2 separate regions of the Homo sapiens genome follow, and region 2 is linked to region 1. Evidence: promoter capture Hi-C in 16 types of primary human blood cells and fetal thymus (Javierre and others, 2016). All regions are on one chromosome and are shown on one strand. Each heading gives the region's core, a stretch centred on a gene start or on the middle of the fragment in contact. The rest is flanking DNA. Distances are from core to core; before and after follow the strand shown.

Evidence for each region. The method cuts DNA at HindIII sites, captures the fragments that hold promoters and counts their contacts. A CHiCAGO score of 5 or more calls a contact.
Region 2: a fragment that was not itself captured here is called in contact with the fragment with the promoter of LAMTOR1 in region 1 in 1 of 17 cell types (neutrophils); the score reaches 5.4 in neutrophils.

What each region holds. Positions count from the first base shown.
Region 1 is chr11:72,101,523-72,105,021 of GRCh38, reverse strand. It overlaps LAMTOR1 (late endosomal/lysosomal adaptor, MAPK and MTOR activator 1), which reads left to right and starts at 1,725. Exons shown (of 5, transcript NM_017907.3): 1 at 1,725-1,839. The coding sequence starts at 1,798. It overlaps LRTOMT (leucine rich transmembrane and O-methyltransferase domain containing), which reads right to left. Exons shown (of 9, transcript NM_001145310.4): 6 at 10-58. It also overlaps the pseudogene LOC124902837. RefSeq lists enhancers at 639-1,159, 1,940-2,019 and a silencer at 1,570-1,839. The HindIII fragment of the contact is 8,877 bases long and covers 1-3,188 here.
Region 2 is chr11:73,382,310-73,385,808 of GRCh38, reverse strand. All of the region lies in intron 1 of RELT (RELT TNF receptor), which reads right to left. Among named protein-coding and RNA genes, the nearest start is that of RELT, 7.7 kb to the right of the region's middle. RefSeq lists a silencer at 459-698. The HindIII fragment of the contact is 8,583 bases long and covers 1-3,499 here.

The DNA of each region.
Region 1 (3,499 bases), core at 476-2,975:
CCTGCTTACCTGGGCTGGAGGACCAGAGCACAGGACAGGTCGGGGAGTCCAGGGCCTGCTGCGGGGGATAACCCTGAGGTAGGAGGCTGGAATGGCTTTCAATTATTCATGCTGAGGCTGCTGCTGTCACCTGAGACCTGCAGTTCAAGTTACCAGCCCCAGGGACGAGCTTGAGCTGCCTCCTACCCTTCAGGAACCTCAAAAGATTTACAGAACCTCAGGGTCTTGATTTGAGGGGTTATAAGAGGTATGAGATCTGGTGACTTCTCCAATACTTTGGATCAGAAGATGGGGCATGGGGTGAGCCAAGGTGATGGGGTGACTGTAACATGCTCATTGATATGCAAGTTTTCTGTAAGCAAGGCCATGCCTTGGGCTACAGGGAAGAGTCAGAACCTGTCACTGTGCTCCAGGAACTCCCAAGTTTGGTAGGTGAGACTGACCCAGGAACAGAGAATACAATATAGTGTGATCACTATTGGATGTTCCATGACTACAGGGACTTTGGCTGTTTTGTGAACTGCTGCATATCCAGATATAACAATGTGTGGCACATAGTAGACGCTCAGCAAATATTTGTTGATTCAATAAATGCATGAATTAACACTGGATGAGGATTAAGCATAGGGAGCTGGGCATGTCCAGAGAATGGAGTCAGAGAAGGTAATCAGGAGGACATTGTACTGAGTCTCGAAGACAGTAAAGACAGTAGGCAGACCAGGCTGCATGTACAAAGTCCAGTAGATCAATCAGGAAACTACATTATTTCTCTATGTCCAGTGAAACACATTGCTGACCCCTCCACCCCTCACCCCAGAACATGCAGTGGGAGAGGTGTCAGGCTCTTGTTATGTCAGACGGGTAATGTGCCAAAACAAGATTTGAGGGTGGCACATTTGATACATGCTGGTGAACACCCAATCACACGCTCATGAACAACAAATGGATCACTATACAATCTTGGACGGACTTGGACCTGTGTTCAGGGCCCAAGGGAAGACATGGAGCGGGGGTTAGGAAAAGAGAACTGATGGTCAGCTTTGTGCGTTCGATTACAATGGGTGCTGTTAAAAAAGGCAGAATTAAAGATAAAAGCCTGAAAGCAGAGAGGTCAGTGAGGTGGCTTCTATCTCCTCTACCAGGATTTATCTCCGCTGCGCGTCAGCATGTGAAGGTAGTATAAGGTCCCTTCTTCCTGTAAGTCGCAGATCCCCAGCCCAGGTGGAGAATACACCCTCTGTGTATTCACCCCCAGCCCAGCTGGGCGATACACCCTCTGTGTTCCCCGACTAGGTACTGGTCATCTGGATCATCTGTGTGTGTGCACCCAGACCGTACGATCTGGAGCATCAGGCCTGGATCCCAGTCGCCCCTCGCATGGCATTTAGAAGAGTATATCACAAGGGCATACGAGGGCATTTGGTACGAGTTCGCTCAATGGCCCAGAAAAGTGGCCTAGTGGCCACGAGAACGCATAACACAATTCACGATGGCCACTACTGCCAGTTTAGAGACTGGAAAGATGAAGTCATGTGATCCGCCCCGCCCTTTCCCCGCATCACGTGCTTGCGTGTACGGTTACGCCTTCCCATTGGTTGACAACGATCACGCGCTAGCGGGCGGGACCGGAAGCCGGGGTATTGACTGAGGCGGCCAAGCGGCTCCGGGACAGGGGGTACGGGGGGTGGGGGCGGGTGGTTGCCTGCGGGAGGCCGCCGCGGGTCATGTGACCGGAAGGGCTCCTCACGGACGCCGTCCCTCCTCGGCGCGGCCTGAGCGCCCGGCCCGACCCCGGCCATGGGGTGCTGCTACAGCAGCGAGAACGAGGACTCGGACCAGGTGCGGCCGCGGCAGGCGGGGCTCGGGAATGAGGGCTAAGACACTGGGGCATGGGGCCCAGAAAGAAACCTGCGGAGGACGGGCAGCCGGACTGCAGGGCTCACTGAATACGGAGGCCTGGAGGGGACAGATTACAGAGGAGACGCCAAGCCGGGCTCCTACCCCTGTTAAAGCCCCAGATTTCTACACAGTCCCCGCCTCGGGGTGTGCAGGCAGCCGCCTGTCCGGCTCGCTCCCACCACTTCCGTTTGCTCCTACCTTCAAAACTTTTCAGATTCAAGGATCCTCAGTCTAGGTCCCCGGGAAACACTCCCTTCCCCAGCTTCCTGTGTCTTCTGTGTATTAGTGGGCTTTGCGAATCCATTTTAGGGGTGGGTAAGCTGAGGCCCTGAGTTAGTCTGTCCTGAGATGAATCAGGAATTCGTGTATCGTCTTAGTCCCTGGGGTTGCAGAAGGAAGGTCGCTGCTAGTCTAGGGCCAGGGGACGACTCTGGAAGTTGGTGGCCTTTGAATTGGCCAATGAAGGATTTAATCGATACAGTGAGGACATCGGGACATGTGGGAAATTGTCTGGGAAGCAACAAAGAGGATTTAGCTTTGGCTAGATTGTGGGAAAAGAGAAATGGAGCGGGAAGTTCATTTGGTTCTGAGTTTGGCTTGCCTCAGTGCAGTCTGCCTGGGGCCTGAGGGTTCCTTTAGCTGGAGACATGCCTATTCTGAGAATTTGGCTGTAGATCTGATACCTTTGGAGAAAGGGTTAGGCTGGGGAGACCTGTACAGTTTTAAATTCTCCCTCTTCCTCTTAGTGCATTCTCACTTCTCCCCACACTCTAATCCCTGCCCTGCCTGGCCTGACATTCAAGGATGAAGTCTCAAGTTGCTGTCTACTCTCCTTTTTTGATCGTCTCTAAGCCCGGATTCTACATTTGAACATATAGTAGACCTGAGAGAGTAGAAAGGTTTCAGGTAGCTCACGGTCTAATGGGGAAGATGGTCACAAAAATAGATTATATCACTGGTACTTGGGAAGTAGTTCGTTCTTCAGTGAACGTATTTTGGATTAAGGGCTTAAGCCTAGGAAAATGTCGTTTGTATGGGAAGCAAGGGTGGCTTCTGGTTCTCAATTCTCCATACACCCAATGAACACATATTTCCTTTGCCCTGTGTTAGGCATGTGTTGTGCCTAATACCTCTCACTTCACTTCCACCTTTTTGAGAAAGAGACAACAATAACCCTGCCTACTGGGAGAGCTGTAGCCTAGTGGGAAATTGTCCCTTAAAGCATAATATGGACTCTTGCAGGGAATGAGTCAAGAAGGATTAATGCCGTATGAGAAAGGATACAAGCTTCTACTTGGAAGGGAGAGCTGGGCCTGCTGCTCTCCTGAATCTCTACCTTCTCCTTGGGGGGCTCTCATTTCTGTTCCTAACACCCAGAGAAGGTGCTTAATCACTGCTGGGTGATTTGAGGCCTCATGTAGCAAGGGCCATAACCATCCACCATCCCACAGTCCCTCTTTGAGTTCTTGGGCAGGCCCCTCTCCGACTCTCATCTCTGTCTCTTTATCATAATAAAAAATATACAACACGTTACAGTTTACAAAGGGCCTTCACAGTTATCTAATTTGACTCTTGCCAGACATCCGTCATATTAGTGTGG
Region 2 (3,499 bases), core at 310-2,809, 1.3 Mb before region 1:
GCGATCCTCTCGCCTTGGCCTCCCAAAGTACTGGGATTCCAGGTGTGAGCCGCTGTGCCCAGCCAGTCATGGGGTTTAAAGGAGGTAATGAAGCTAAAGTAGGTCATGGGATTTCCTTCTCCACAGCCCTTCTCCTCTGCCCTGCTGGCAGAGGGCTGTGATTAAGTATTTGTTTGCTTACTTGTTTATTCCTTGCTCCCCCACCAGACAGTGGTGAGGGCAGGGACGTCTGTTTTATTTGCCACAAAACTCCACACCCAGCCCCATGTCTGAAGCGGGAGGCCTCCAAGCAGGCTCACGAGGCGGGGAGGGTTTCCTCAGACTCAGCTCTCCAAAAAAATGCCCGAACAATGAGAACCAGAAATTCCCTGGAGAAAAGCCAACTAGCAAAGGCCACGGCCAGACCCCCAAGCTGAGGGCCCCAGACCACGATTGAGGCCACAGATGGTGGAGCCCCAGGGAGGTGCAGCCTGGAGGCCTCAGAGAAAGAGGAAGCTGTGCCACCAGCCCAGGCCACAGGCAGCTTCCCCTTTCCCAGAACTGAAGCTCGCTGGGGTCACCCGGGCCCTGCCACGCCACTCCCCCTCCCCTAGGCAGGGCCCTCCCCTTCCCTACAGTCCCTAAGCTCTCCCAAGGCCTGCGCCCATTGCTCTTGCCCCCTTGCCCTGTCTCTGGCCTCCAGGTCAGTCCCGCCCTGCAGCCTAGGTGCCCTGACACCCAGTTCTGGCCCTGGCCCTGGGCCAGCTCCCACCACCCTCAGGATGGCGTCGTGACGCGCCCCCACCAACCTCCCCCACCCACACGCCTGCCACGCTGAGTGCTTTCCACCCTCACACACGCTGCACCTGCTTTCTGCTCTCCCCTCATCGCTTGGCCAGCACCCACTCTTCCTTAGAGCTCAGCTCGAAGTCACTTCCTCCTGGAAGTACCCTCTCCCCCACCTCCCCCTCAGCATTCATGGTGCCATGCAGATCCTATTACCCAGCCCTTTCCCCACCACGAGCTGCCTGCTCCATGCCCAGTGCCGACCTGGGCGGGTATGGGCTGATTTGGGGGAGAAGGCAGAAAAGGCACTCTTGGTAGAGAGCCCAGCTATGCCGAGCTAGAAGAGCCAGTGAGCAGGCTGAGGGGGAAGGAGCCCAGAGGCTGGGGTGGGTCAGAACCCAGATCTGAACCCCTGGGCTAACCTGGGGATACAAAGTATGGGGTGCAGTCCTGCTCTGCTCTGTCTTGCACTGGCTCTGTGGCCTGCCTGCAGAGGGCTGTGGTAAGGCTGAAAGAAGAGAATCACATTAAGTACTCAGCACAGGCCTGGCACAGAGTAAGCATTCCCCACACTTCACTGTGACTCAGTTTCCCTACGTGTGGAATGTGGAGGAGAAGGGCACAAACCTTTTATTTACGTTCAGTGCCTGGCACAGAGTCTGGTATACAGGCGGTGCTGGGTTCGCCCTGGTGGGAATCTGGAGGGTGGGAGGGCGGAGAAGACGGGAGGAGTCTGGAGGAGTCTGGGAAGGTTGGTGGGCAGTGCTCAGGTCACACCAAGGCTCAGCTGCCTGCCAAAAAGCCTGCACTTCCCCCTAGGGCCTATGGGAGCCAGGAAGGGTTAAGCAAGGGATGGAGAAGAATGAACAGTTCGGTCTCAGCAGGCTCCCCAGGCTGCCTGCTAAGAGAGGCCGCACTGGGGGAGATGGAGGTGGGGGCTGGTGCCCACCTGGAGGAGGGCAGGTAGGGAGGCAGCTACTCTGCTTCCCAGATAGTGGCTCCTGAGCCTGTGGACCTCCCTCTGGCCTCCAGAGGCTAGGGTTGCCTGGAAACACAGCTGGACACAGGCCTCCCTTGGCGGTGGCCACACCCAAGGCAGGAAGACAAAGGCCACCCATCAACAGAGAAATCCAGGTTAGCAAGGAGCCCAGCGGTTCCCTGGCAAGTGGGGCTGAAGTAGGGCAGCGACCACGCTGAGTGGCTTTCCCTCTTCCACACTCACAGGGAAAGGAATGGACCCCAGCCCTGTGCAGGCCGGGCCCTCATCCTGGGTTGCTGCCTTTCCTTGCAGGAGAAGTGAGCATTCCTGTTTCACAGCTGGGCAAACTGAGGTCAGGGGAGGTCACTGGCGGGGGTCACACAGCCAGTAAGAGATGAAGCAGGAATGGAGCCCAGGACTGTCTCTTTTCTGCCTCCTTTTGCCCTGCAACTTAGCCCAGGACCTGGCACATAGTAAATGTCCTTGCAGTGTTTGCCAACCTGATGGTGGAGGCTAGCAAGCTAGTAGCACCCAGTAGGTGGCTCAACTGAGGGTCTGTTACTAAGGACCCAGGAGGGCCCCAGGAGAAGGTGCTGTCTGCACCGCCATCCCATGGGGCCTCTAGGAGTTGCCTGCATCTATACTCATTTGCATATTGTTCTAGTCTGTGCCAGCTCTGGCAGGAAAGGGAGCTGTGAACTGAAAGAGGCAGGAAGACCGGGGAAGTCTGGGAATTCCCAGAGCGGGGAAAAAGAGGTCCCAGGGTGGAACCCCAGCTTACTAGGGCTGCTGCTGGAAGCTCAGAGATGTGCAGAGGCTGGCTCAGGGCCACTCAGTGAGACAGGTGCTCCACTCCTGCCCCCTCCCACAGCCCTGGGCAGCCATGAGCTCCCAGGTCACCACGATGGGGTATAAACCAGTCCCTCAAGGGCTGGGGAGCACCTCGAGGCCAGGCAGCAGCTGCTCCCCAGCCCACTCTCAGCAACACCCCCAGAAGTTGGGCATGGTTCTGCACCTCAGACCTCCTGGCTGCCACCAGGCCTGGGTTTCAGTGGCTCAGGTGGATGGGGTGGGGCTGAGGCTAAGGGGGCTAAATTGGCCCCTTGAGGCCAAGAAAAGGGCTGAGGTGGCCACACCTGGCCCACCCAGCTCCTCCCAGTCTGGGTATGGTACAGGTGCAATCCTTGCCCCACTTCCTGGGCCGAGTCTGGGGCTAGAGGAGGGATGTCTGAGACCAGACAGTTATCTCGGGCAGAGAGGAGGCTCCCTAACCCTCCTCACTGAGCACTACTGCCTGTCCCCTTCCCACTCTAAGCTGGGTCTCACTGAACCCCTCAAAGACAGTGTTCCATGCTTCACACAGAAAAAACTGAGGCTCAGAGAGGTCAAGTGGTAGCCTGTAACAACTTCACCTTGAAGGAGATGAAGTTTACCTACCCTGGAGTAGGGGCAACTGGCAGGCGACCCCTGCCTGAGCCACCCAGGCCTGGTATCTCCACTGCTTCTGGCCACCGTCAACCTCTCAGCACCACAGACAGCCCTGTGTTGCCAACCCTGGCCCTGAGACAGGACAGCAACGGGTCTGGGGGTGCTGAAGGACACCTCACTGCAGCCCCGGCTCATGCTCTGCTACCTCCTCCAAGAAGCCACCTTTGCCACCTGCCCCGGCCATAAAACTGATCCCAAGTCCCTAATGTGCTCAGCATGGGCCCTGCCCCCAATCACCCTGACCTGGAAGACCTGGGCAGAGGCTTT